Linked DNA regions of Homo sapiens: regions 1, 2, 3 and 5 are each linked to region 4. The links are contacts of gene promoters, found by promoter capture Hi-C in blood cells and fetal thymus (Javierre and others, 2016). All regions are on one chromosome and are shown on one strand. The core of a region is centred on a gene start or on the middle of the fragment in contact, and the rest is flanking DNA. Distances in the headings are between cores, read along the strand shown.

Region 1 (5,420 bases), core at 2,266-4,765, 200 kb before region 4:
GACATCTCAGTAGAAATCAGCACACCTGGCCAGGCGCAGTGGTTCACGCCTGTAATCCCAGCACTTTGGGAGGCCAAGATGGGTGGATCACGAGGTCAGGAGTTCAAGACCAGCCTGCCCAACATGGTGAAACCCTGTCTCTACTGAAAATACAAAAATTAGCTGGGTATGGTGGCACGTGCCTGTAATCCCAGCTACTCGGGAGGCTGAGGCAGGAGAACTGCTTGAACCGGGACCCAGGAGGCAGAGGTAGCAGCGAGCCAAGATCGCGCCACTGCACTCCAGCCTGGGCTACACAGCAACACTCTGTCTCAAAAAAAAAAAAAAAAAAAAAGAAAGAAAGAAATCAGCACACCTAACATTCAAATCTTGATTTCTAAAAACCATTCCCCAACTAAAAAGGACCAGGACTCCTTGAAGAAGTGGCCCATTCCACAGTTGGGGAAAGGAAAGTATGACATAAACCCAAAAGATAAGAATAAACAAAAAAGCCAAAAAGTAAGAAAATACTCAGAAAATAATAAGGGCATATCAAAGGACATTACAGTCAGCTTGCATTGATCAAATCCGCAGATAATTTGAGCATCAAAACGAATAATGAGTTATAACTTATTGTATAAAATAAGAACCCACGAGTCAATGTTAGTGCTGAATAAATCACTAAATAAAAATGAGAAGGGAAATTTATTTCTAACAGTAGAATGACAACTACTAAAACTAACACATTTTGGCTGGGTGCGGTGGCTCACGCCTGTAATCCCAGCACTCTGGGAGGCCAAGGCGGGCAGATCACCTGAGGTCAGGAGTGCGAGACCAGCCTGACCAACATGGCAAAACCCCATTTCTACTAAAAACACAAAAAAATTAGCTGGAAGTAGTAATGCATGCCTATAATCCTAGCTACTCAGGAGGCTGAAGCATAAGAATTGCTCGAACCCAGGAGGTGAAGGTTGCAGTGAGCTGAGATCACAACACTGCACTCCGTCTCAAAGAAAAAAAAATCCTAAATGTGATCACTGTCCTGTGGTTATATAACAATGTCCTTGTTTTTACGAGATACATGCTGAAGGAATAAAGGATCCTGATGTCTGCAACATACTTACAAAAAGATTTTTTTTAAACAGTGATGATGACCGGGTGCAGTGGCTCACGCCTGTAATCCCAGCACTTTGGGAGGCCCAGGTGGGCAGATCACCTGAGGTCAGGAGTCAAGACCAGCCTGGCCAACATGGTGAAACTCCCGTCTCTACAAAAATACAAAAAAAATTAGCCGGGCATGATGGCAGGTGCCTGTAATCCCAGCTACTTGGGAGGCTGAGGTGGAAGAATCGCTTGAACTGGGAGGGAGAGGTTGCAGTGAGCGAGATGGCACCATTGCACTCCAGCCTGGGTGACAGAGAGACTCCATCTCAAAAAAAAAAAAAAAAAAGGGCGATGATAACATGTATATAAAAAGTGATAGGGCCAGCTGTAGTGACCCAAGCCTATAATCCCAACACTTTGGGAGGCCAAAGCAGGTGGATTTCTTGAGCCCAGAGGTTTGAGACCAGCCTGGGCAAGATGGCAAGACTGTCTCTACAAAAAACTTAAAAATGAGCCTAGCATAGTGGTGTGCACATGTAGTCCCAGCTACTCAGGAGTCTGAGGTGGGAAGATCACTTGAGCCCAGGAATTTGAGGCAGCAGTGAACAATGATTGTGCCACTGCACTCCAGGCTGGGCAAGAAAGCCAGATCTGTCTCTTAAAGAAAAAAAGAAGTGATAAAGCAAATACAGCAAAATGTTAATAAATGGCAAATCTGGAAAAAGAGTACACTGGGGCCAGGCATGGTGGCTCACGCCTGTAATCCCAGCACTTTGGGAGGCGGAGGCGGGCGAATCACTTGAGGTCAGGAGTTCAAGACCAGCCTGGCCAACATGGTGAAACTCTGTCTTTACAAAAAATACAAATACTAGGCGTGTGTGGTGGCGGGCGCCTGTAGTCCCAGCTACTCGGGAGTCTGATGCAGAATTGCTTGAACCCAGGAGGTGGAGGTTGCAGTGAGCCAAGATTGCACCACTGCACTCCAGCCTGAGTGACAGAGCAAGACTTCATCTCAAAAAACAAAAACAAAAATAAAAAAAAAAAGGGTACACTGGTGTTTACTGGCAAAATCAAAGCTAAAATTTCTAGTTCAAGTGACTTACCTACTCAATACAATTAAAAAAAATAATCTCAACATTGTTTTCCATATGACTATGTAATGCCAATAATAATTAACATTTACCAAGACATCTCAAGAGAAGGATAAAGAAGATAAAAAAAGTTGGTAATAAACTCAAAAAAATTACTGTGAGTGGTTGGTTCATCTTTGCCTTGGCAATAAGGCTGAGTCAAAGGCAGAATGACATAATTCCTTTCCTTGATCCCTCTATGGATAAGAATATGCTTATTTTCCTAAACCATGTCTTTTCCAATCTCTCTCTCTTTTTTTTTTTCTGAGACGGAGTTTTGCTCTTATTGCCCGGGGGGAGTACAACGGCTCACTGCAGCCTCTACCTCCCGGGTTCAAGCGATTCTCCTGCTTCAACTTCCCAAGTAGCTGGGATTACAGGCAAGCGCCACCACGCCCAGCTAATTTTGTATTTTTAGTAGAGACGGGTTTCTCCATGTTGGTCAGGCTGGTCTTGAACTCTCGACTTCAGGTGATCTGCCTGCCTCGGCCTCCCAAAGTGCTGGGATTACAGGGGTGAGCCACCACACCTGGCTCCAATCTCTTTATTTAGAAATTCTTTCCTAAGACCATTCCAAATTTCTGAACACAAAGCCTCAAATGGCTTCACTTGATCTGGCTAACTCCATTTCACTGGCATGCATGCATTCAATCATTCATTCATTCATCTGACAAAGATTTACTGAGCTCCAACTAAGTAGTGGGCCCAATTCTCTTTCACCAGAGATACAACAGTGAAAAGACAAATTCCCTGCCTCATAAAGCTTACATTCTGCTGGGGAAGATAGACAACACACAGATAAATTAAAATGTAATATATAAGCACCATAATAAAAAATTTTAAATGCAGCATGACACGGGGATATAGCAACGGGGGAAGGGTAATTCTATGCAAAGAGATAGCATTTAAGCAGAGATGTGAAGTAACAGAATGAGACATGAGAATGTCTACAATAGGAACAGCAAAAGACCCAATGAGGACAGCAAATTCAGCACACTGGAGACAAATCCCAAACTTACTTTACTGTATGCAGAGGGTTGATCCTTTAGGGTCTGACAATGCATCATGGTTCCAAGGGCTACTTGCTGGACCAACAGTTGAAATTTTAAATTTCTAGAAACAAAATCTGTCTCACAGTTTACCTGTGGGAACAAATTGATATAGCTGTATAAGCTGTTTAATGATAATTTCCAAAAGTGCCTTAAGGCTGGAGAATAAATCAAGATACTGATAGAACAAGCTACAGACTCAACGGAAAAAAAATGACTCCAAAATTTTAAAGCTACGCTTCCTCTCCTAGCCTGGAACAGAATGAAGTGATTTATGTTGGGCCAGTGAGTTAGCAATAGCCTGTATATTCAGAAGATGGTTCAATAATGTCCTGAAGGACTCACCACAAGTTCACCACTTACCTATGTCTGCACACCATCATCACCTCATTCTCCAGCCATCCCAACTCCAAACCACTTATGCTATTATCTTGTTTATCCCCATCTCTCACTCTAAACTAATCCACATCTGACTCTTCACCAATTATGGCCCCCAAACCTCCTCTAAAATACCTACTCTCTATTCAGCAACAATTAATATAATTAACTTGTAATCTAACTGTTCCAGGAAACAATCAGTGACAAGGTGTAAGCCTGTGCCAGACTCACATTCAGGAGTAATATTCTAGACTGTCAGGCCATTTCTCATCAACACACCAGTACATTTCTATACTTAAACGAATTCGTAACTAATACCCAGGGTTTCATGAGTTTAACTTCAACTACGCTTTATGGTTCTTAAACAGATCTCTTCTTCAAGAACAGGCCCCTTTAGGGCCTACTACAAGCTTTACACCCAAGGGACAGCTGTTCTTGGTATCTGGAATTTCCAACAACTCACCTCTACTAATACAGTTGTGTTTCCTTCCTGCAACAGCCCAATCAGGCCTTCTTTGGTCTTCCTCCCTTGGAGCTTGGCAGCTTTGCTCCAGCCCTCCTTCTGGGCCTCCTTGTGGAGCCAGATCTCTGCCTGTAAATTGAGAGGAAAAAGAGCAGACAACAAAGTCACAGAATTTAGCACTAAATGTAGTTCTAAGATATACTCAGGTTTCCTGATTCTCTAAATTCTCTAACAGAAACTAAAGTAATCTATCATTTACTGGCAGTCTACCACTAAATGCCAAATACCAGGTATTATTATAACTGGTGCCTTGGATGAATCTAATCTTCACAACAACCCTATGGGGCACACAGTTGTATTTTCTTTATACAGTTACGCACCACATAACGATATTTTGGACAATGACGGACTGCATATATGATGACGGTCCCTAAGATTATAATGGAGCTGAAAAATTCCTATTGTCTAGTGACACGGTAGTCCTCCTAACATTGTAGGGCAACATATTACCTACATGTTTGTGGCAATGCTAGTGTAAAGAAAACGTCTGTGCTGCCAGTCCTATTAAAGTATAGCACATACAATTACATATAGTACATGATACTTGAAACAATAATGAACAACTATGTTACTGGCTTATGTATTTACTATAATACATATGCTTTATTGTTATTTTAGAGTGTACTCCAACTTATAAACTACTCGGGTGGCTGAATTTCTTGAACCCGGGAGGCGGAGGTTGCAGTGAACCAAGATCTATCGCGCCACTGCACTCCAGCCTGGGTGACAAAGTGAGACTCCGTCTCAAAAAAATAAAAAATAAAAAAATTTAACAGTAAAACAGCTTCAGGCAGGTCCTTCAAGAGGTATTCCAGAAAAAAACATTGTTATCATAGGAGATGACAGGTCCATGCCCGTTACTGCCCCTGAAGACCTTCCAGCAGGACAAGATGTGAAAGTGGAACACAGTGTTAATGATGATGCCACTCCTGTGTAGGCCTAGGCTAATGTATGTGTTTGTGTCTCCGTTTTTAACAAAACAATTTTTTAACTTAAAAAAAGTTTTGGCCAGGCGCTGTGGCTCACGCCTGTAATCCCGACACTTTGGGAGGCTGAGGTGGGCGGATCACAAGGTCAGGAGATCGAGACCATCCTGGCTAACACGGTGAAACCCTGTCTCTACTAAAAATACAAAAAATTAGCCGGGCGTGGTGGCGGGCGCCTGTAGTCCCAGCTACTCAGGAGGCTGAGGCAGGAGAATGGTGTGAACCTGGGAGGTGGAGCTTGCAGTGAGCCAAGATTGTGCCACTGCAGTCC
Region 2 (6,283 bases), core at 3,669-6,168, 180 kb before region 4:
TGGCGGACCACACGCTGCGCTAGTGAGGAGTGGGCAGAGGGAGAGAGAGGAGGGCGGGATTCTCAAAGCAGCCGGGAGAGCAGTTGTGCTGCAACTGCTGGGAGGATTTGGGGTAGACCCGGGAGGATCAGATGGGTGACGTCAGTTTTTGGGGGTGGGACCGGGAGATTCGACCGAGAGAGGAGTTGGCGGGTTGAGAGTGGGCGTGGCGTTCGGGCCTAAGTCTGGGTAGCGGTGCTAAGTTTGGGAAGAGAAATAAATTGTTACTGAGACTGAAGTGATAGAGGCAGAATGTCGTTTCCATCTTTTGCTTTTGTTTGTTGGATTTAATAAAAAGGCAAACATATACACAATCCTGCCCGCACCTTACCTTACCTTCCCTCCCCGCAGAGCACAAACACAAAGTAGGATCCCAGTGCATTAGGCAGCCAGTCTCGGGAGAAGGGGAACTTGTGCCCCAGAAAGGGCAGTTACCCGGCCAGGGTCACATCAACCGCCAGAAGTGGAGTTGGGCAGGTCAGCGTTTATGGGCCTCATGATGGTCCTATGATTCACACTGGGAGTTAAGGGTGGTTTCCATTGTCCCTCTTAGAGGCCACAGGGCCCAGTGTTACAGAATTTTTGAGAAACCCTCCTCCCTTTTACCTCCCACCCTCACCCACCCACACACTCTCACAGTACCACTTCTGCAATGGTGTGACCAACCTTCTCATGCTTCTTATGTCTTCTTTCCAATAGCCCTGTGAAGCCAGAGGAGATGGACTGGTCTGAGCTATACCCAGAGTTCTTCGCTCCACTCACTCAAAATCAGAGCCACGATGACCCAAAGGATAAGAAAGAAAAGAGAGCTCAGGCCCAAGTGGAGTTTGCAGACATAGGCTGTGGCTATGGTGGCCTGTTAGGTAACACTCAGGCCCTCTTTTTGGGGTGAGAAGAGGCCTAGTAGCTTCTGCTGCCTCAGCAACTTTTGTGGGGGGTCATAATTGGCCTTTCCCCTTTCGTCCAGACACTGGTGACATCAGCATGGAGAGGCTCCACCTACCCTCTACTCTGGGTCTGTGACCTTTGCCCTGGAGAGTGGAGGGGGCTGCCTCAAATGCTTCTTAAAACCTGGGTTGTCCTTTCTGGCGTCAATCCCTACATGAGCCATTTCATCTGCCAGGTTCCGGGTCAGTGAGCTGGTCAGCACAAGCATCAGAGATTAGCCGTTGTGGCCAGTGATCCTGAACTGTCTTTTCTCAGAGATTCTACCATCTCCCCTCCCCTTTGCCCCTCCCTCGCCAGATCTCATTCCTTCTGCCCCACTCTCCTGTTTTTTGGGTTCCTCTTGTATTGTCTGTATTGTCCCACCCATGCATGCCAAGCCACTCCCTATTTTTAGATCTTCCCAAACAGATAACAGCCTGATAGAGAAGAAGAGCATGGTACATAGAGGCAGAAAACCTTGGTTTAAGGTCCAGTTCTGCCTGGGCACAGTGGCTCACACCTGTAATCCCAACACTTTGGGAGGCTGAGGCAGGTGGACCACTTGAGGCCAGGAGTTCAAGACCAGCTACTCAGGAGGCTGAGGCAGGAGAATTACTTGAACCTGGGAGGCAGAGATTGCAGTGAGCCAAGATTGTGCCACTGCACTCCAGCCTGGGTGACAGAGCAAGACTCCATCTCAAATAAATAAGTTCCAGTTCTGCCCCTTCTTAACTCTATGATCTTCGGCATATCTGACCCTCAGTTTCCTTATCTTCACAATTTACCACAGAGTGTTATAAGGATGAAATAACACAATGTGTGAAAACACTGTGGAAAACTCTAAAGCAATGGCAAATATACATGTATCCTCAGCCCTCCCATTCTGGTCCTGGTGACAATTTTCATTTCTCCCCCCGCCTCTTGAGCATAAAACTATCCATATATGTATCTCTGTCCTCTCTTGCCGTTCTGGACTTTGGTAGTTGCAGGTTGAGGCTTCCTTTCCTGTGTTGACCCCTTTGCACTTCCTACAAGTATATGGTTGATGATTCCATTGCTATTTCTGTGTGCAGTGGAACTGTCACCGCTGTTCCCAGACACACTTATTCTGGGTCTGGAGATCCGGGTGAAGGTCTCAGACTATGTACAAGACCGGATTCGGGCCCTACGCGCAGCTCCTGCAGGTGGCTTCCAGAACATCGCCTGTCTCCGTAGCAATGCCATGAAGCACCTTCCTAACTTCTTCTACAAGGGCCAGGTGGGGAGGGGCCCTGGTGGGTTAGGCTGGTAGGCAGGTGGGGGCATGGAGGCCAGGCTCTCACAACCCTGTTGGTGTGTGTCTGTCTCACAGCTGACAAAGATGTTCTTCCTCTTCCCCGACCCACATTTCAAGCGGACAAAGCACAAGTGGCGAATCATCAGTCCCACCCTGCTAGCAGAATATGCCTACGTGCTAAGAGTTGGGGTGAGTTGGGATCGGAGGGATGATGGGGTGAGTGGCCTACTCAGGGGCCCTTCACTAAGAATTCAGTGGGGGTGCATTTAGGGACTCACACCACCACTTCCTTCATCTGGCTGCTGACGTTGCATGCAGCCTCCTGTCTAGGGTGATTTTGCCTATGCAGGGGCTGGTGTATACCATAACCGATGTGCTGGAGCTACACGACTGGATGTGCACTCATTTCGAAGAGCACCCACTGTTTGAGCGTGTGCCTCTGGAGGACCTGGTGAGTAGGGGACCTAGAGGAGGTGGAGGCCCTTTCCAGAGTGGTTCTGTATTTGGACTTAACTCAGTGCCAGGAGGATGGGATAGGTGTCTAAGGGCCAGGGGCAGTCTGAACAGTGGGCAAGGACTTATTGGACCCTTCCTTCTCCCAGAGTGAAGACCCCGTTGTGGGACATCTAGGCACCTCAACTGAGGAGGGGAAGAAAGTTCTACGTAATGGAGGGAAGAATTTCCCAGCCATCTTCCGAAGAATACAAGATCCCGTCCTCCAGGCAGTGACCTCCCAAACCAGCCTGCCTGGTCACTGACTGCTTACTCTACCTTAGCTGGACCTCGTCTCCCAGGGATTAGAGAAAAGAGCAGGAGTCCTGGGTCTTCCCAGTTGAGACTGCTGGAGCTGAGACACAGTACTCTCTTAAAGAAGGTGGGGAGCTGCCCAGGGCAGAACCCACTGGTGTTCATGACTACCCCTGGCTCCTCTCACCTTGTCCCTCCACTGCCAACAGAAAACAAAGCAGCTGACTGAGATGGTCAAAGGACTTTGGACCATAGGGGATCTTTGGAAGGCTGTGGGGTCTTGCTCTTCCTTAGCACTCCTTTCTCCTTGTGAGATCTCTCCTCAGCTGGAATGAGGAATGTAGTCCATCTAAACTGCTTGCTAGGCTCAATTACCACTTCTGTTTGCTTTGTGGATCCTGGGATAACATGTATATGTGTACACATGCCTATTCTGCCATTTCTCAGGAAAGGGTGGAGTATGTATCATATGCCTTCTACCATCCTCCTGTCCTCTCCCTGCGTAAGACTTGACCTGGGGAATCTGTGTTCCCTAAGTGTTGTCTCTGGAGAGTCCTTGGGAAGGTGTGGGGGTGGAGACCCTCTCCTTTTTCACATTGACCTTCAATTCCAGAACTTCAGAGCTAGCTGACTGGCACAGAGCCTGATAGAGTTGCAGTGGGGAATGAGGGAGTAAGGAGCAGAGAGGTAAACTGTGGGAGATTCTTTTATTTTAATTTTTTTTAGAGACAGGCCCTCTCTCTGTTGCCTAGGCTGGAGTGCAGTGGTACAATCATAACTCACTGCAGCCTTGACCTCCCGGGCTCATGTAATCCACCTCAGCCTCTCAAGGCACTACAGGCATACGCCACCATGCCTGGCTAATTTTTGTATTTTTTGTAGAGACAGTTCCACTATGTTGCCCAGGCTGGTCTCAGACTCCTGAGCTCAAGCAGTCTGCCCACCTTAGCCTCCCAAAGTGTTGGGATTACAGTCATGAGCTGCCGTGCCCAGCCTAATTTTTAAACTTCTTCTGTAGAGACAGTCTTGCTATGTTGCTCAAGCTTGTCTCAACCTCCTGGCCTCATGCCATCCTCCTGCCTCAGCCTCCCAAAGTGCTGGGATTATAGGCATGAGCCACCACAGGATTCTGAGGCTAAAAGTAGAAAGGAGCTGCTAACCAGAAAGCCCCCCAGAGGAGACCGAGTCAGCTGGGGAATTAGAACATCCACATCCATTTAGCTCCTCTAACACCCCACAGACAATCTCTGAACTTAACTAATGTACAAAAAGTTTCATTTCTGCTTCTCAAGCCCCAAATTCCCATGTCTGGAAGGAGGGGGCTTGTATACCCAAGAGACCCCCTTATCCTCAAGAAAGAAAGATGGAGGTTCTAGGAGCCATTTTAGCCCATTAACCCACCTGCCATCTGCCCAGTATATGTTAGGTACAGGAGGAGGGGGAGGTGTGGCTAGTGCAGGAAAATAATGCAGAGAAGATACAACCCACTAAGCCAAGAATGTGGGGACAGTTACAGCTGTGCCTCCCCTGCTTCCCTTCCTGGAGGAGCTGAAAGATGGGGAATTCCTGAGGATGGGCCTAAAGGGGCTGGGCTCACTGGTAGAAGTGGGAATATCAGAGACTGACTAGTGTAGCTTGGTCACCTAGTCCCTACTAAAAAGCCTTATAGCCTTTCCTAGGATGAGACTTTGAGGCTCCTAGACAAAGGCACTCTCCCAGGAGGAAAATCTTAGGCCCTCCCTCCCATGAGGGTCATTGCAACATGAGACCCAAGGGAGTTGTGAAGTCAGCCCCAGCCCCGCCTACTGTTCCTGGGTGCTAATCCCCAGCACAGACCACTCAGGAGGAGGGATTGGCTGAGGAGCTTGGAGAGGGGGCGTCATCACCTCACCCAAAGGTTAAATAGGGGTTGAGATATGATGCTCAGGAGAAGCGCTTTCTTTCGCGAGCACCCTGAACCAGACCATGACCCAGACCCTCAAGTACGCCTCCAGAGTGTTCCATCGCGTCCGCTGGGCGCCCGAGTTGGGCGCCTCCCTAGGCTACCGAGAGTACCACTCAGCACGCCGGAGCTTGGCAGACATCCCAGGCCCCTCTACGCCCAGCTTTCTGGCCGAACTTTTCTGCAAGGGGGGGCTGTCGAGGCTACACGAGCTGCAGGTAGGAAGGGACGCCTTTCCCGAGACAGAGTGCTGGGGAAACTGGTTTTGACAGCGTCAGAAAGGACTGACTAGTGCAGAGCAAATGTGGGACAGCCAGAGAGAACGGATGCCCATGAAATAAGGAAAAGGCGAGTTGAGGCTGGGGGCGGTGTGGCTACACTCGGGCAGAGCCCGTCCCGACTCTTAGCAGAGGGCGCTGCGAAAGCGCCTTCTCGCTGTCCTGAGGTGTGGAGATCCTGCAGATAAAGTACAAGTGCGCGGGAGGGGGAGGCCGGAGTGGGCAGTACCCTCCGCCTGCTTGCGGCTTAAAGCTACATGGGTTCCTTTTCATTCACTGAGGACTCGTCCTGAGATGGACAGTCCAGACATGGAACTTTTAGAGATTTCTCCTCGACCGAGATGATCAGAGAGGTCCTGAATGTCTGCCTTGCACAAAGTTCCGGTTTTGCCCATCACACTCAAACTTTCTAGGGATGGGAAATGAGAGAGGAGGAGTTTGCAGTATCAAAGGCATACACTAGTTGGGCACCCGAGAAAGAGCAGAAGCTCCCTATTCCCAAGCCCAGTCAACGCCCTTGGCGTGGGCACAGGTCAAGCTGAAAGTCCCCGCCCAGGTATCCAAGTGTCCGCTGTGTCCGCTCCCCCAGGTGCAGGGCGCCGCGCACTTCGGGCCGGTGTGGCTAGCCAGCTTTGGGACAGTGCGCACCGTGTACGTGGCTGCCCCTGCACTCGTCGAGGAGCTGCTGCGACAGGAGGGACCCCGGCCCGAGCGCTGCAGCTTCTCGCCCTGGACGGAGCACCGCCGCTGCCGCCAGCGGGCTTGCGGACTGCTCACTGCGTGAGTCTTCTCTGCCCCCAGAAGCCCAGACGCCCTGCAGCGGCCCTCTCCTGCTGCGGGTCCCGAAACTATCAATCTGGGGGCATGGTGGGAGGTCGGCTGTCCCACTCTACCATTGGGCATCTTGGGGTTCCCATCCCAGTCTGCTTCACCCACACTCAGGTTGAGCCCCAACCTCACTCCCCGCCTACCTCCTTATCCTTTGAGGCCCGAATCCTGGGAACTGGGGGAACCGGAGGAATTGGGCTAGGGTACAAGGATCTGGATGGAATGAATGTAAGGTTCTGTGACTCA
Region 3 (6,309 bases), core at 488-2,987, 250 kb before region 4:
GGGCATCGTGGGGCCACGCGAGGAGTAAGGGAAAGCTGGACTGCGCCGGGGCATCTTAGAAATCAGAGCTGGAAGTTTCATCCACCAGGGTGAATGGCAGGCTACAGAATAGATAACAGCAGAAAGCAAAGCAACTGGCTTGACAGTGTTAAGTTGCTGGTGTTGGATTTTCTTGGAGTTAATGTTTCTCCTTTTTTGTGTGTGTGGTTTAAGCCAGCAGCCACTGGGTCTCTCCCTCCCCATGTAATTTTTTATTTTAATTGAGATGGAGTCTTACTCTGTTGCCCAGGCTAGAGTGCAGTGGCGCAATCTCAGCTCACTGCAACCTCCGCCTCCTAAATTCAAGCAATTCTCCTGCCTCAGCCTCCCAAGTAGCTGGGATTACAGGCGCGCGCCATCACGCTTGGCTAATTTTTTTGTATTTTTTAGTAGAGACAGGGGTTTCGCCAGTTGCCCAGGCTGGTCTCGACTCCTGAGGTGATCAGCCCCCTTCGGCCTCCCAAAGTGCTGGGATTACAGGCGTGAGCCACCGCGCCCGGCCCCTCCCCATGTAATTTGATTGCATTCCAGAGAAGACAGACTTTCTTCCTGGGCTGCTTAGGCACCCAGCAACCACTAAACCAACTTTCTGAGTCCCACATCATTTACAAACAAAACCTACGTCTTCAAAACAAAACAAAAAACAAAAGCTGGGGGACTGGGGAAGCAGATGTTTTAATTGGCTCCTTTTGGAGTTCCTTCTTCTCCCCACTCCGTCCTCTCCACAACATCCCATCTCCATGCCTTGCCTGCCTTTGGAAAAAGGGGAAGAAGGAGTGTGAGGTACTTATTATTAATAAGTAAATTTCTGGAAAGAAACAAATTGCTCCTAGCTTGGGTGGCTATTTAGTGAAGTTACTTGCCATTGCGGGTTTTTTTTTTCTTTTTTTAGCATTCTGTTCTCTGAGGTTTAAGGCTGTCTGGGTGCGTTGATGATTCAAAAGTAATTACAGTAGGGGAAGTAGAACAAAGTTGCTGAAAGCATTGATGATAAAAGCACCAAAATTGGATCATCTTCCCAGACAGATGGGTGAAATGGCTTTCTGGTACAGCAAGGACAGGATTGTGTGTAACATCAAAAAGAAAAAAGAAATGTTAATATCAGCTTGGCAAGAATGGCTGTTGATTGCAGCTCTATATGAGATTGTCACCCCATTGCTAAGAGGTTGTGACCTTGGCTTTGGGATTAGATGGGGGAAAGCCAAGGAAACAAGACCCACGCTGTAACCTCCCAACGTGAAATGAGACCTGGTGGAGGCAGCCTCTTCCGGAGCTCAGTGACCCACACGCCTTTTGGAGGAATCAGAGATTTTTTTGTTGTCCATGAATCCTGATGCCCCTTCCTCTCGATGATGCCCTGGATTACCTTCTCACATGCCGAACTGGACAGGTTCTGATAGCTAATTGCAAGGATTCTTCTGAGAGACTGACCATCTCTGAAAATTACGATGTGGCAAGTTTTCAGGATGGCTAGCTCTTTTGTTATCCGCATAAGGGAGAAATTCTGCCTTATTCCCTCAAAAAGTTGTTCAGACACCGTTCACTGTAGATGTAGGCAAGCCTTTAACTTGAAAAGCTTAGACATGAATCTTGCTGGAGCTTCCTTCCATAGCTTGCTATGCAGGGGGCGGGAAGCCTGCATGTTTATAGCTGGCTCCTCCTCCTGCCCTGCTGGTGCCTCTCACCTTCCTTTGCCTACCCTGGGTCTTGGCCTCTTTGTGCTCTCACAGTGACTGCTGAGGCTCCCTCCTGCATCTCCTTTGGAGTTTTTCCCCCATCTTTGGGTAAGGGTTGCAGCCTGCGTGGTGACTTAAGCTTGTGTTTGCTCCTGTCCCCAAAATTGCAGAGGAGCGCTGATAAATCAGCAACAAAGTTTGTAAATGCCTAACATCTGGGGCTGGGGGTTTGCAGTTGACTTGCAGAGCTTTCCACTGAGCAGCACTGGAATTGCTGTGAAAAATCCCTCGGAGGATGGCAGAGGTGGGGGTGTTCCTTTGTCCTCTCTTCTCAACCGTAGAGGTCTTAAAGAAACTGGGTAGCAGAGAGGTGTCATTTCATCCTTTCCATGGGACCTTCCAAATCCCTTATCATGGATTTTGTTAAAATGGTAAATACTAAAGAAGTCACATTTCTAGCCAACGTGAATTGATGCTCCCAACCTGTGAAGAATTAAAGTGTTTGTAAATAAGCATGGAAAAGAAAGACAATATGTAAATATATATGGGATTGTGTGTATGTGTGTACATATCAATACATAGCTTCCCTTCCAATTCCTCCTACAATTTTTTTTTTCTGCTAGCTTTTGGGTAATTTGGGGTATTGTCTTTTATTCCCATCATGGTAAGTTTGGTTCTTAGATTGGACAGAGTGGGGACCAGGGTCAGGGATGGTGGTTAAAGTTTACATTGTTACTTCAAAGCATTGTTTCTGAAGCAAAATTGCTTCAGGCCTGGGTTCAAATACCTTCTTTTCCTATTTGCAATGAGACTTGATAAATCACTTTAGTATTCTGAGTAACTTATCTATAAAGTAGTAATAATGATATCTACCCTTCTATTATACTTGGTACTTAGTAGGTGCTTGATAAATATTAATGTCCTCCCTCTTTACATAGTTAGACTACTCTGTTCGCCCTCCTCCATTCCCCCAAGGACACAGTGTAAACAGCACGTAGTCTTGTGGGTTTTATTTTTCAAGACAGGTGGCCGGGGGTCAGAGGGGACACTGATTGTGGGGGCTTGGGCCTTCTGGAAGGATCAACCTCTTAGGCTTACAAACAGCCTTGCTGCACAGACCCCTTCTTTGTGTCATGTGACTTGGGATGTGATTTGTTATCTGCCTGGGCTGTGGGACTTTGGCCATTCTGTCTGGTGCCTGGGCATCTGGGGGTGGGAGAAGGCCAGGCATGTGCCCCCTGTGAGTCTCTAAAGTCTAAACTTCCTTAGAGGTTCTCAAATATGGATATAACGAATATTCAGGACAACTGTATGCTACATTCTCTCACTGTCTGCTTTGAGAGTTAATGAATTCAGAGAGATTGAGGTTTCTTTTAGGTAATTTTAATAAGAGGGGGAAAAAGAAAATGGGGTTTGAAGAGAAATAGATGTTCTTAAGCTATTTGTTTGCTCCTGTGGTTTTGGGGTACAACATTGAGAAAGTACAAAAGCAGCATTGATCTGCTTTTCATCTTGTCTTAGTCTGGCCAGCTCTGGGAAGCATGGAATTAACTCGCTTGTCTTTGGGACGTGGGATTGGGTGTGGCCCTGACATATTTCCCTCACTTTTCTGAAATGGAGTAGTAGTTCTGAACTGGGATGCAGATGAGCACATTAACACGCAAATCTTACAAAGAAAGTACTAGAAATTAAAGTGGATAAGTTGACGACTTAAAACTGGAAGCATCTCTGGACCAGAGACCAAATAGAATGGAGTTTCTTTGTCTGGCAAAATGCCCAGCCCTTCAGGTCTGAGTATGCCTGCACCAGGATCTGTTATCACAGGGTACTCCAGTGAGCGCCACAGCCTCCCTCTAGGCAAAAGTGTGTATGCCCTGTTTTATGTTAGCTATTCTAGGAGTTAGCCTTGAACCTGATCTCTGAGTGGATCTGACATTTCCATTTCCCTCCTAGGTGCTCTAGTCCTTCCCCCACCCCCATCCCCCCAAATCAGACTTTGCTCTTACTCTCTTTTTATTCTATACCTTCTTTTATTTCTTGCCACAGCTTTTTCCATCCTCTTGAATTTGCACTTTCCCATCTGCATTGTTCCCAGGGAACAAATATGGCCCCAATCCCAGTGAGAGCCAAGCAGACTCATGGAAAGGCTCAAATTGCCTGCGGAAGGCTTCCTGGATAGTAGATCCCAGCTTTTCTGTTCCCGCAGCAGAATAGAGCTAGGACCCCTCTTTCACAGGAACAGGGGCCTGCAGGTAGAGACAGCAGACCCAGGTTTTCTGACTCACGTCACATAGAACTACCCCTAGAGAAGAAAACTGGATCCTAGGCATGAGTCCTCTAAGGCTTGCAGAAACACTGAGCCAGTCAGGTACGGTGGGGAGAGGGGCCAAGGGGACTTTGGCTGAATTGCCTTCTAGCCCTGGGTTAGTCAGAGACCCTGGCAACCGGTAGATACTGGCTCTCAGCCAGGGACACACATCAGAGTCTCCTGTGACACTTGCTAAAAATACAGACCCCCCACCTGGGATCTGCTGAATCAGCGCATGGGCAGGTGGGTCAGGCATGCATGTGTTCCAAATGCTCCTTGTGGCTCTGACAGGTGCCCCTGGAGAAGAGCCAGGTAGGCACAGCAGTGGCCCCAACTGCCTGTTTTGCCCCGAGCAGGAAAATTCCTCTTGGTGGTCCCGTTTTACTGTATGTTAAAGATCTGTGGCTCTTCAAGGGGAGTCCTAAAGTTTTCAGAGTAAATGGACAGAGTAATGATCCATCCTTGTTTACCCAGTAATGGTTACAGCCAATATTTATAGAGTACTTGCCATAGGCAAGGTACTATTCCTAGCATTTTATATCTCGTATCTCACTTAGTTCTCCTGACAACTTTTCCTTTCCAATAAGAGGAATTAACCTCACTTTACAGATAAGGAAAACTTTCACAGGGAGAGGGAAGGACTTTGCCCAAGGGTACATGGCTAGTGTCAGCCAGACATTTGCATTGTCTGGCATTTCACTTTTTTTTTTGAGATGGAGTCTTGCTCTGTCGCCCAGGCTGGAGTGCAGTGGCGCGATCTCGATCTCAGCTCACTGCAAGCTCCACCTCCTGGGTCTATGCCATTCTCCTGGCTCAGCCTCCTGAGTAGCTGGGACTACAGGCGCCCGCCACCACGCCCGGCTAATTTTTTGTATTTTTAGTAGAGACGCGGTTTCACTGTGTTAGCCAGGATGGTCTTGATCTCCTGACCTCATGATCCGCCCGCCTTGGCCTCCCAAAGTGCTGGGATTACAGGCTTGAGCCACCGTGCCCGGCCTAACATTTCACCTTTTAGAGTGCTTTTGAGTTCATGATTCAGGTGCATGCTTCAGGTGAAGCCACCTTTTAAGGGACCATGCAGGGGAAACCTTTCCAGATTGGCTTATGAGGAAACTGAACCCCAGAGAATTGTGCCCTAGCAAGGCCACGGAACTGTTGAAAAGCTGAACTGGAGCAAGAGCTGGGTTTCCTGACTTCTAGATCAGTACTTTCTCAAGTGGACTCACCTATACGGCTTGGCTGGTCATAGGTGAAGCTGAGGGGTGTGGGGGGAGCAGCAGAATGTCCCTGGAGATGGGTGCCTCCCTGGCAGACTCCTTCCATTCCTTCTGCAGAGGCCAGCCATATGAAGGAGGAACTGGTTGGCCAGCCTCAATGAGTGTGTATGTGTGTGTGCGACTGATTCGTTTTTGTGGAGTCCCGGAAAACATCATTTCCGGTTTGGCCCTGTTACTACCTCTGAAATGAGTTAGAAGAAATCTCTATGGTCCCTTTAATGTGAACATTTTGAGATGGAGACTGAGGTAAGAGTATGAAAGTACTTTGCACTTAATGAGTAGCAGTTGACACTTACAAAGCTTTTGTTAGGACCAGGACACTCCCTGAGCTCCCTGCAATTCTGACACTGAGAAATAGGTAGTCTTCCCATTTTGCAGATGAAGAAACTGAGGCCCATGGCTGCATACCTTACACATGGCAGAGCCTAGATTCGAACTCAAGTCTGGGTGCCTTGTGTCACCACTGTATTTTTCCCTGGTCAGAACAGATACCCTTGCTTTGTCCTGTGTCCTCACTGCTTTCTCCAGCTCACGTTTGTATCAACCTAAAGCAGGCCTACATACCTGGAAGGGAAAGAAGCAGTGGATTCTTCCTAGGCTTCAACTATATCTAAGCATTCCAGGAGTCAAGGGCACAGCACTAAGGCAGGAACTTGAAACACTCACTGAGAGGTTGTCTGTGTGTAGCCCCTCCCACAGGGGCTTGTTATACACCTCCTTAGGGGGAAGGAGGGGTAACTCCAGGTAGGCAAGTGTGGTTTCCAATCCCTCACAATGATACCTTTGCTCTGGCTGGTGCTACATAGGGCAGGGTCTCCTGCTGAGGCAGGGGCAGGATCCAGTCCTTTGAGTTTTCTTGGATGGCATCTCAGGCTTGTCCCTGCTGCCCTGTGGGCTATTAGATCACTTCCTGACATCCCTCAAGAGTCCTCTGGAGTGGGGCTTGCAGGGCTGAGCCTGCAGCTGACTTGTCTATGAGGAAACGCCTCCTCTGTCTCTGGTCCAGGAT
Region 4 (5,820 bases), core at 2,901-5,400:
CAAAAAGGTAAAGAATTATATTTGCCAAGACTCTCATTTCTCCAAATATGGCTGTCCCAAATAGTACTCCTCAGTTGCTGGGGAGAAAGGGCTACCCTCACCCCTTAATGGACTCTCACCAAGTAATCTTGGTCATCAATGCCAAATCGATCACGGAGGTTCCTGAAGACCTGGGGACAATACTCCTTGAACTTGAAATGACTGGGCAGATTTTCCCTGAAATTCAGGTTTTCAAAGTAAGAAAACAAACAATATTACATTTACATACACTTGGTAGTTTATAAAGTACCTTCAGACATATTACCTCATTTGATTCTCATAAAACCCTGTGAGGTCCTTTTTTTTTAATTTTTATTTGTTATTATTATTTTTTGAGACAGAGTCTCACTCTGTTGCCAGGTTGGACTGCAGTGGTGCAATCTCGGCTCACCACAACCTCCATCCCCCGGGTTCAAGCAATTCTCCTGCCTCAGCCTCCCAAGTAGCTGGGACTACAGGCATGCGCCACCATGCCTGGCTAATTTTTTGTATTTTTAGTAGAGATAGGGTTTTGCCATGTTTGCAGGCTGGTCTCGAACTCCTGACCTCAAGTGATCCACCCGCCTTGGCCTCCCAAACTGCTGGGATTACAGGCATGAGCCACCACGCCTGGCCCTTGTGAGGTCCTATAAAAACATATTATTTCCATTTTATAGAAGAGGAGACTGTCTCAGAGTGATTCAGTGACCTGCCTAAGTAACATGGTTGGTAAGTGGTATAGTAGAGCCAGGATCTACTACCCATCCAAACAGCAGCATTTCCCAAATCTCAAGCAAGTCAGAAGCATTCTAAAGTCAGCAACAGACACCACTGTTTTGAATGGCATCTTCTTTTCCTAGGAGGGCTTAGTAGAGAATTCAAGTTTTTCTTTCAAGGAGTCCCTGTCAGAAGCTAATGGTTCTCATGGCATCTCCAAGGTCACAAGCAGAAAAAGAGAGAAAGAGCAGGTAATGGTATCTGTACATATTTACTCTATGGAATTGCCAGGCTAGAGGAGAGATAACACTGATTCATATAAGGATATAGGGAACACCAGAAATTATTCTCATGGTTTCCTTGCACAAAACTAATTTCTGCATTTGGGAAGGATGTTAAATTTTCAACTCACTGAAACTTTTAAAATTATTTATTACTCCTTTCTGGGAAGGTTGACATGAGAATGGCAAGGATCATCACTTACCTGTGGAAAAGGTGATTGTTGACCTTGATCTTGGAGCTGGCCTTAAAGTCATCTGGCAGCAGCATCACCGGGGGAGGCACCTGGCTGAGCTCATTGATCTGATAAGCCAAACCATGAATAGGGAAGCCATGAAGAAGGGTGTGGAGAGCTACCCATACACTGTGTCTGGGCAGCAGTCATGCAAGGGCCACTCAGACCTCATTCCTTTAAAAACACTGGCTATGCATATGCTTGACAGAAGTGAGAGAATGTGTCTAACCCTTCTGCTGCCCAAGAAGGACTACAGTAAGCAACCCTCACACACAGCCCCCAACACGCCCACCCCCATGGAACTTCATGCTCACAACAGTCATTTTATATTAGGCTAACCCTGTAAGCAACTCAGGACTATTTTTAAAGCTGTGAGAAATTCTAGAAAAAAAAAAAAAAAAAAAAAAAAAAAAAAAACTCTGCAAGCTCAAGGCAGCTACATGTTCCATTAGAAAAAGAAAAAAAAAGGCATTTTAAAAATGCACAAGAGTGTTAATGGGATTCTGTGGGGCCAACCACAGCAAAAAGGATAAATGTCCATATCCTGCAAAAGGCATCTCTTTGCAAACAGGACCAGTCTTCCTAGACCACTCTGACCCAGTTGTTTGCAGTAGGCCCCCACCTGTCTAAGGTGTAAGGTAAAGGAAGAGCAGCTGATTTCAGAGCGAATGCAGGCAATCAGAGGATATGAGCTCATTAGGCGTCTGTTCCCTAAAGCCAAACTAATCCACAGCCCAAAGGACACAAGCATCACATGCTCTCCTCGGCCCCCAGGATCTGCAGTCTGCTAATTCAGGGTAGAAAGGGAGCTCTAGTACTTAAAAATCCTGAGCCGTGCTTTCTCCTTGGTGTTGCTACAGTACCTTTCACCTGCCTTTGTTACTGCATGACTCTAATCACTAGTTTATGTAAGTTCTCCCATCTAGATTGTGAGCTCTTCAAGAACAAGGGCTCATTCTAGTCGTCTGCATCTTTCAGGTGTCTAACTAGCACAATGTTTGGCACACAGTGATCCTGACATGTCTATTAATTGAATAAATGAATGCCTTGCCTATCCTTACTAGATCATTCCACAGAGGCTATGAACTGCAGTCTAACCTAAATCACACACACTGCAGTGCAACCAACTCCTCCCGTTCTCAGTAGAAAAGGAGGACAGAACATATCCCTCCAGATTAAAAAAAAAAAAAAAGCCACTTGAGACTCCCAGCCTAAAATTCAGCTATAGCTCCTCCTGCCCCCTCCTCCCCACCTGCTAAGCAAGCTGAATCATCACTAAGACATATGTTCAAGGAATTTCTCCATTCCAAACACTTGAAGTAGATGTGTGTTGGCAGAGGGTGGGGTGCTGGGGCTAAAGTATATATACCTAGTGAAGCTGAGGTAGGTCTTACATGTAACTCCCCCAATCCTTAACAAGGGAAAACCCTCCCTGTTAAGCATCCCACAGGGAATGGATGAATCACCTGGAAGGTACATATGAGAGGCAGCCCTACCTCCATCAGCCTTCCCCATACCAAGTGCCTTCCACTGAATACTCACTAAGAGCTTACCACCCAGAGAGCCACAAATCCAAAAGAGATCCGACTGGCCACAAACAACATTCTTAATTTTTGGTTAAGAAATTCTTTACCACAAATTAAAAATGTGACAAAACGCGTATTCTTCCTCACAACTTCCATCTCCACAGCCTAGCCATGACTATATTCAAGAACGCTGATTTCGAAAATATTCCGTGTCACATTCAAGATAACTGCATTTCTCCCACTCCAGACCTGACGGAAGATGGGCAATGGCTGTGCTTCTTTCAGCTGAGGTATCCTCAGGAAAGGGGATGGAGGTCTCCTTGGCCTCCTCCTGACTCCCAGAGCAGTTTCCTGCTTCAAAAGTTCACCACCATAGTGACCTCAGGAACAGAGCCCCTCAGCCTTCTCTTTGGTCAACAATCGCCACCACCTACACCAAACACGATCGCTCTAGCCAGCGATAAGGATGCAGTTAAGACCAAAGGCATATATACATAAGTCCTGAGAGTGTGCAACTTCTAGCTCAGGGTGGGGTAGCTTCTCTAAAATGCTGTACCTCTGGAAGGGAAAGGAAGGGACAAGCAGGATTAGAAAGCCCAGGAAACCTGGAGCTTCCCCGAGACAAAACCAAGATTCAAAAGCCAAGGACCGGGGCTGGGAAGCAAGGTGGAAAGCAAAGTGAAAGAACCTTTTCATCCATCTACTCCCCTCGGCCCCTCACCCTCCACCTACACTCTCACCAACAACCACCCGAGAAAAAGCCACTCCCCCTAATGTCCTCCCCGCTTGCGCCCGGTCCTGGCCAGTCCGCGTAGCCTGAGGCTGAAGCTAGACATGGCAGGAAGGAGTCAAAGCACAGGGAGCTGGATTTCACGGGGGGAAGGTGGAACTAGAGTGGAGCAGTAAAGAACTGTTGGGGAGAAAAAAGTCCACAGTCAGAAAACCTGCTGGGGGAACACCTGGGGTTGGTGGGCAGGGACCAAGACAACCCGGGGGAGGGGAGTGGCACTGCGTGGGGCTCCGGAGGCTGGAGCCTGGAAACAGGGACGCCTCGGAGCCGAGGGGTTTGGACAGGGCTGCGGGGGTCTAGGGCTGGTTCTCACCGAGTGGGCTACGCCCCACAGGAACACACCCACCAGCGGGTCGGCCGCCCGGAACACCTTCACCTTCTGCTGCACGAAATGCTTCTTCTTGGTCTTGGAGGCGAAGCCGAAACCTGGGCCGGGGCCTGCTGTCGCCGCCGATACCGTGGCTGGTGGGACCGAGGAGGACGCCATAGTCTCCCGCGCAACCGACCAAGTGGAAGCCGGAGCCGGCAGCTATCCAGGCGCCCGACCCCGGAAGCGGCGCTCACCTGCGCTGCTGTCACGTGACCGGAGGCCGGACAGCGGACGCGCGAACAGGGCGAGGCAGGACGGGGCGGGGCGACGCTGGCCCCGCCCCCCGGCGCCTGCCTGCCTGCCCCAATGTCCGCTCAGTGTGTGGGCTCACCTGGCGTGCGGGATCCCTGTAAGCTGACGAAGCAAGCGGCCCGCGAGGCCCCTCGAACTGTCAACTAGGAGACCGTGGTGCGGCCTGGGCTGGCCTGATTGACTCCCAAGGTCTAGGGCTTCTTTGCTGCAAAGTGGCCGCCTTCCGGCTTTGCCCAGTTTCTAATGAGTAACCTCGGACCTGATGCTAATGCGAAAGCATTCTTACCGAATGGGGGTTGGGAAGGGGAGGGTTTTGGAAACCCAAAATTCTTACCAGTGGTCTCAAGCGTCTTGAAATTCATTCATTCATTTAACAAGTATTTATTGTGCACTTAGTTGTACTAGGTCCTGTTCTAGGGGCTGATTTTCCTTTTATTGAAGCAGGGTATAGGACAGTGACTGCCCCGAAGTAGTTGGGAGTCTAATGGCACTGGCTGGCCAATGGAGATCAAGTTTGCAGTATGCAAAGTATGAGCTATCCTAGAACTGTGTATGAAGCAAAGACAATGATACAAAGAAAGGAAGTGTAGCTGGTCAGGGAAGGCTTCAAAGAGGATAGAGACTTTACTGAGTTTGGAAGGGTGGGTGGAGTTCAGGAATAGAGGTTAAAAGGCTGTCTAGACAAAGAGAACAGCATACAAAGACATGGAGACAAGAAAGAACGAAGCCGGGCGCGGTGACTCACGCCTGTAATCCCAGCACTTTGGGAGGCCGAGGCGGGAGGATCACCTGAGGTTGGGAGTTCAAGACCAGCCTGGCCAACATGGTGAAACCTCGTCTCTACAAAAATACAAAAATTAGCCGGGCATTAGCCGGGCGTGGTGGCGTGAGCCTGTAATCCCAGCTACTCAGGAGGCTGAGGCAGGAGAATCACTTGAACCCAGGAGGCGGAGGTAGCAGTGAGCCGAGATCACGCCAAGCAGAGATCACGCCAAGCAGAGATCACGCCACTGCACTCCAGCCTGGGTGACAGAGTGAGACTCCATCTCAAAAAAAAAAAAAAAAAAGCCGGGCATGTTGGCAGGTGCCTGTAGTCCCAGCTACTTGAGAGGCTGAGGCAGGAGAATCGCTTGAACCCAGGAGGCAGAGGTTGCAGTGAGCCCAGATCATGCCATTGCACTCCAGCCTGGGCGACAGAGCAAGACTCTGTCTCAAAAAAAAAAAAAAAAAAAAAAAGCCAGATGCGGTAGCTCACGCCTATAATCCCAGCACTTTGCGGGGCCGAGTCGGGAGGATCACCTGAGGTCAGGAGTTGTGGGCAAAGGATTACCCAGGTGCCAAGGCAAGAGACTGAAGGCACAAACTGTTGCAGTATAATAAAGAAAATAGTTAGAATAAAGAGTAGTTACAATACAAATTAGATATAGAGATGATCATGGACAATTATCAATCATCAGTATAAACATTATAAATCATTAGCTTTTAATATTACTCTTTGTGGCATTACTAATATAACCTAGGAATAACCGGCAGGTATAGGGTCAGGTGCTGAAGGGACATTGTGAGAAGTGACCTAGAAGGCAAGAAGTGAGCCCTCTGTCACGCCCGCATAAGGGCCATTTGAGGGCTCCCT
Region 5 (5,536 bases), core at 504-3,003, 190 kb after region 4:
GGCTGGAATGCAGCAGCTCGATCTTGGCTCACTGCAACCTCCACCTCCCGGGTCTAAGTGATCTCCTGCCTCAGCCTCCCGAGTAGCTGGGACTACAGGTGCCTGCCACCACACCCAGCTAATTTTTGTATTTTTAGTAGAGGCAGGGGTTTCACCATGTTGGCCAGGCTGGTCTCGAACTCCTGACCCCAAATGATCCACCTACCTTGGCCTCCCAAAATTCTGGGATTACAGGCATGAGCCACTGTGCCTGGCAGAATAGTCTTTAAGTATTGAGAAACTGTCAAGCTCATCATAGTGATTACATGATTTTCAAAATTCTGATTTTCACTTGAGAGCTCGATTTTTATCATTCGTAATAAATCTATTTTGTTCAATGGTCAGCTGCATTCTTTGTTTATGATTTAAGTGGGCTGGCAATTTGAGCAAGACTCTGTCACAGTTTGCCTCTATTCCACATGGTTTTGGCTGGGCTCACTCATTTGTGTTCAGTTGGCACGTTAGCTAGGGGCTGGTTGGACCTGGATAGCCTCATTCACATGTCTAGCATTGGGCTAGAGCTGTCCTCTAGGTTGGTATGGCCTCTTGCAGGCTGGCTTGGCTTCTTTGCATGATGGTTAGGTTCCAAGAGGTTTTGAGTGGAAACTGAACGGCCTCTTGAGGCCTGGGCTCGGTGGTCGCAGTGTCATTCATGCTGCACTCTGATGGTTGAAGCAAGTCACAAGGCCAGCTCATATTCAAGGGGTGGGGAAATGAACTACACTCTTTTTTTTTTTTGAGACGAACTGCACTTCTTTATGGGAATTGTTACACATAACTGTGGCCATGTTAAACATGGGCATAGTTCTTTATTATTCCTCTTTTTCTCCTTCCCTTTCTCTCTTTCATTCTTTTTAAATGAAATGGATGTTTTCTGCTTGTTTTTATTGCCCTGACTTGTCTTTCTTTTTGAAGTTCATGTTAGAACAAAGCTTACTTACTTAAATATTTCTGTGATTATTTGGTGTGGCTGGGGACTGATATTTTCAGGTCCCAGCTTAGCAACTATTTTTCAGATTACCGTAATAATACCAAACATCTGTTAATGCTGAAAAGCTATTGTTTCTTCCCCAGGTGATTTTGATCTCTTTGAAAAATTGGCAATTTCTGAGGGTTAACACTCTGGTCCTTTTATGGGCTCTGTTTCCAGCCCTTTATGGCTTGTTAGTTATAGAGAGTTACTAATATTGACCTGAAATATACATATGTATTTTGTTGTTGCTAGTTGCTCCATGAAGTCAGAGAGGGAAGGGCTCTGCTGCAGGAGCAGAAGGTGTCTGGATGGTAGTTGTCTTGAGTAGACAGTGTTTATTGTTTTTTTTTAATATATATTTTTATTATACTTTAAGTTCTAGGGTACATGTGCACAACGTGCGGGTTTGTTATATATGTATACATGTGCCATGATGGTGTGCTGCACCCATTAACTCGTCATTTACGTTAGGTATATCTCCTAATGCTATCCCTCCCCCTTCCCCCCACCCCACAACAGGCCCCGGTGTGTGATGTTCCCCTTCCTGTGTCCAAGTGTTCTCATTGTTCAATTCCCACCTATGAGTGAGAACATGCGGTGTTTGGTGTTTTGTCCTTGCGATAGTTTGCTGAGAATGATGGTTTCCAGCTTCATCGATGTCCTTACAAAGGACATGAACTCATCATTTTTTTATGGCTGCATAGTATTCCATGGTGTATATGTGCCACATTTTCTTAATCCAGTCTATCATTGTTGGACATTTGGGTTGGTTCCAAGTCTTTGCTATTGTGAATGGTGCCACAATAAACATACATGTCCATGTGTCTTTATAGCAGCATGATTTATAATCCTTTGGGTATATACCCAGTAATGGGATGGCTGGGTCAAATGGTATTTCTAGTTCTAGATCCCTGAGGAATCGCCACACTGGAGTAGACAGTGTTTTTATATGTGAAATAAACAAGATTCTTTGGCAAGTCAGTGACTTGTCAGTCCATCAGGATGAATCAGCGGAAGTCCTAGGTGAGGTGAGAATGTCAGCACAGTGAGCCCCTTGCCCTGAGTTTATCGGGCATCCCATTAAGGTAGCTGTCATAGCTCCTATTTTAGAGAAGAGTAGGAGTCATTGTTCAAGATTTAGCTTACTTTAAAAACTTTCAGGGGGGAAGGTCACTTTTAGTATAATGACACCATTAGAAGTGGCATGTGGCTGTTTTTCAGATTACAGCCATTTTGGTGTGCCCAAGTGTTACCAGTTGTTAGGATCTTTAAAACTTGTCTTCAGGTGACTAGAGGCTATGCTGCTTCTCCAAGTAAGTTTTATTAATTGTCTTGGGTCCTAGACAAGTTAACTGTAGTTTCTGACTTATCTATTGCCTAAACCTGTGATAATTTGATAGAAATAGGAACTAAGAGGTGGCATTTTATTGCAAAAGATGGATGTTGGCTGCTAAATACAGCTGATTAGAAGGCTAGGACAAAGTGTCTGTTTTTCTGGTGACGGGGTCATTATTAAAGCTTTATTTTATTTTATTTTATTTTTTGAGACAGAGTCTCACTCTGTTGCCCAGGCTGAAGTGCAGTGGCATGATCTCAGCTCACTGCAACCTCCACCTCTCGGGTTCAAGCAATTCTGCTGCCTCAGTCTCCCGAGAAGCTGAGATTACAGGTGCACGCCACCATGCCCCGCTAATTTTTGTATTTTTAGTAGAGACGGTGTTTCACCACGCCAGCCAGGCTGGTCTCAAACTCCTGACCTCCTGATCCACCCACCTCGGCCTCCCAAAGTGCTGGGATTACAAGTGTGAGCCACCGTGCCTGGCCTAAAGGTTTATAGAACGCTTCAGTAGTCAGATGGCTGAGTTCAGCTCCTTTCCACTCCTGTGAAGTTATCTTTAAGACATTTGGAATCCTTCATAGAAGTCTTATCAGCAGTGATTCTCTTATAGGTGTTTGCTACTTGGGTCAATTTAGCCTAAATGGTTCTAAGCTGTGAAGCACTCTTCAATGCTATGCTGGTAGCCAGATCTTTGACAATTGCTGCTGCCTCAGAAGATTGGATTTGGGCCCCACAGAGGCAGAGAACAGTTAACTGCCAGATATGACTGCCATCTTATTTTCCAAGTGTAAATTTTACCTTCTGAGAAAGGAAGAGAGGGCTGGGTGCGGTGGCTCACGCCTCTAATCCCAGCACTTTGGGAGGCTGAGGTGGGCGGATCACTTGAGGTCAGGAGTTTGAGACCAGCCTGACTAACATGGTGAAACTTTGTCGGTACTAAAAATACAAAAATTAGCCGGGCATGGTGGCGGGCACCTGTAATCCCACCTACTTGGGAGGTTGAGGCAGGAGAATGGCTTGAACCCAGGAGGTGGAGGTTGCAGTGAGCCGAGATCACGCCACTGCACTCCAGCCTGTGTGACGGAGTAAGACTCCATCTCAAAAAAAAAAAAGAGAGAGAAAGGAAGAGAGATTTCTGAGGATACAAGGCAGATTGTTAGAATGAAGAAAAGAACAAGGTTTTGACAGTTTGGCCATTTTATTGGCTATACAAATAAGTTTTAAACACCTTAAGAAACCCAAGTTTACCTCAGAGGAAGTAACTTCTTAGCTTTGTAAATGCACCAAACAATTAGAAAACTGTTTCAGTGCTTATCATGTGTCAGACACTGTTTAGAATTGCAGGTACAGATACGAACAAGGTAATAAAATATTTCTTTTTCTTTTTCTTTTTTTTTTTTTGAGGCAGAGTCTCGCTCTTTTGCCTAGGCTGCTGGAGTGAAGTGGCATGATTTCGGCTCATTACAACCTCTGCCCCTCTCCCCTGCCCACCCCCACCACCAGTTTCAAGCGATTTCCTGCTTCAGCCTCCTGAGTAGCTGGAATTACAGGTGCCCACCACCATGCCCAGCTAATTTTTGTATTTTTAGTAGAGACGGGGTTTCACTGTGTTGGCCAGGCTGGTCTCGAACTCCTGAGCTCGTGATTCGCCCGCCTTAGCCTCCCAAAGTGCTGGGATTATAGGCGTGAGCCACTGTGCCCGGCCCACAGTATTTCACTTTTAATTATGATATGATTACAATTAGGGCAAGAAAGTCAAAATTATGTTGCTCTTGATTCTCTTAATCAGAATTAGAGAGTGAACTCTTGGTGTGACAAAGCTCTTAGTGTGAACCCACTGTGCCCACTTAAAAATTAGATGTATCTGGGAATGGCTTGAGTGCCAATGGGGAAAGGAAACTAGTAAATATTTTGCATAGGGGGGAACAAGGTATTACATGGGAAAAAGTTTACCACAGGAGGAGTGTTTTAGGACCAGCACTAGTGGTGAAAAGGGGAAAGGCAATATCCTCTGGCCATTCCTTCGCAACTTTAGCCAACTACTCCACATTCCTAATGTCAAAACCGTGATGTGCAGGGGCTATAAAAAAAAACTAGAACTTTTTCATAGAAACCTTTGTTAAGATATCAAGAGGGCAGACTTTCATGATGTGGTATTTGTGGAACAGGGTTATATAAAACAAAATGGTGAGTTAGGGATATTCTCACTTTAGCATAGAACACAGTAGGGCTTGGGTGTTTTGAAGGCTTCCAAGAATACAGACTGACTTGGGCATATTAAGGGTTCCAATGGTGGCCTCCTGAAATAGATTAAACAGCCAGCCCTCAGGGTCTTGTAATAATAATAACTACTGCTTTTAGGGTGAAGAGATACTAAATTATGTACTTGTAATGCCTACTTATATTCACAGAATAAAATTCTGCCTCTGGCCTCTTTTTGCTTCTACTTCTCATCTATTAAGAGAGATCCTAGTTTTGTTTGCTCAGTTCTAGACAATTTTTTTTTTTTCTTTGAGATGGAGTTTTGCTCTTGCTGCCCAGGCTGGAGTGCAATGGTGTGATCTTGGCTCACTGCAATTTCTGTCTCCTGGGTTCAAGCCATTCTCCTCCCTCAGCCTCCCAAGTAGCTGAGATTACAGGTACATGCCACCTTGCCCAGCTAATTTTTTGTATTTTTAGTAGAGATGGTGTTTCACCATATTGGCCAGGCTGATCTCGAACTTTTAACAGTAGGTGATCCACCTGCTTTGGCCTCCCAAAGTAAAGTGCTGGGGTTACAGGTGTGAGCCACCATGCGCAGCCTAGACTACTCTTTTTTTTTTTTTTTTTGAGACAGAGTCTCACTCTGTCACCCAGCCTGGAGTGCAGTGGCATGATCTCAGCTCACTGCACCCTCTGCCTCCTGGGTTCAAGCAATTCTCTGGCTCAGCCTTCTGAGTAGCTGCGATTACAGGCGCCCGCCAACACACTTGGCTAATTTTTGTGTTTTTTCAGTAGAGACGGGGTTTCACCATCTTTGCCAGGCTGGTCTTGAACTCCTGACCTCGTGATCCACCTGCCTGGGCCTCCCAAAGTGCTGGGATTACAGGCGTGCGCCACTGTGCCCAGCCTAGACTACTCTTTTTTATTTTTTTATTTTTTATTTTATTTATTTATTTATTTTTTTGAGACGGAGTCTCACTCTG

The links. The method cuts DNA at HindIII sites, captures the fragments that hold promoters and counts their contacts. A CHiCAGO score of 5 or more calls a contact.
Region 1: a fragment that was not itself captured here is called in contact with the fragment with the promoter of PIP4K2C in region 4 in 4 of 17 cell types (naive B cells, M2 macrophages, erythroblasts and 1 more); the score reaches 5.6 in naive B cells.
Region 2: the fragment with the promoter of CYP27B1 here is called in contact with the fragment with the promoter of PIP4K2C in region 4 in 4 of 17 cell types (naive CD8 T cells, total CD4 T cells, activated CD4 T cells and 1 more); the score reaches 7.0 in naive CD8 T cells.
Region 3: a contact is called between a fragment that was not itself captured here and the fragment with the promoter of PIP4K2C in region 4, in 1 of 17 cell types (naive B cells). The highest score is 5.2, in naive B cells.
Region 5: a contact is called between a fragment that was not itself captured here and the fragment with the promoter of PIP4K2C in region 4, in 2 of 17 cell types (naive CD8 T cells and M2 macrophages). The highest score is 6.1, in naive CD8 T cells.

Annotation. Positions count from the first base shown.
Region 1 is chr12:57,784,975-57,790,394 of GRCh38, reverse strand. It overlaps TSFM (Ts translation elongation factor, mitochondrial), which reads right to left. Exons shown (of 6, transcript NM_005726.6): 3 at 4,104-4,232; 4 at 3,233-3,355. Among named protein-coding and RNA genes, the nearest start is that of TSFM, 4.9 kb to the right of the region's middle. The HindIII fragment of the contact is 1,074 bases long and covers 2,979-4,052 here.
Region 2 is chr12:57,765,713-57,771,995 of GRCh38, reverse strand. CYP27B1 (cytochrome P450 family 27 subfamily B member 1) reads left to right here and starts at 4,918. Exons shown (of 9, transcript NM_000785.4): 1 at 4,918-5,149; 2 at 5,799-5,989. The coding sequence starts at 4,955. METTL1 (methyltransferase 1, tRNA methylguanosine) reads left to right here. Exons shown (of 6, transcript NM_005371.6): 1 at 1-22; 2 at 739-902; 3 at 2,040-2,224; 4 at 2,318-2,431; 5 at 2,592-2,693; 6 at 2,845-3,525. The coding sequence ends at 3,000. RefSeq lists enhancers at 1-147, 1-1,032. The HindIII fragment of the contact is 11,205 bases long and covers 4,035-6,283 here.
Region 3 is chr12:57,838,148-57,844,456 of GRCh38, reverse strand. The region is part of intron 1 of CTDSP2 (CTD small phosphatase 2); the gene reads left to right. It overlaps CTDSP2-AS1 (CTDSP2 antisense RNA 1), which reads right to left. Exons shown (of 2, transcript NR_188077.1): 2 at 696-2,198. Among named protein-coding and RNA genes, the nearest start is that of CTDSP2-AS1, 4.2 kb to the right of the region's middle. RefSeq lists enhancers at 6,027-6,106, 6,167-6,276, 5,857-6,309. The HindIII fragment of the contact is 239 bases long and covers 1,618-1,856 here.
Region 4 is chr12:57,589,522-57,595,341 of GRCh38, reverse strand. PIP4K2C (phosphatidylinositol-5-phosphate 4-kinase type 2 gamma) reads right to left here and starts at 4,150. Exons shown (of 10, transcript NM_024779.5): 1 at 3,879-4,150; 2 at 1,220-1,317; 3 at 120-216. The coding sequence starts at 4,052. RefSeq lists a silencer at 4,053-4,312 and enhancers at 3,911-4,412, 4,493-4,542. The HindIII fragment of the contact is 11,010 bases long and covers 1-5,820 here.
Region 5 is chr12:57,396,422-57,401,957 of GRCh38, reverse strand. All of the region lies in intron 1 of R3HDM2 (R3H domain containing 2), which reads left to right. Among named protein-coding and RNA genes, the nearest start is that of R3HDM2, 32 kb to the left of the region's middle. The HindIII fragment of the contact is 1,559 bases long and covers 974-2,532 here.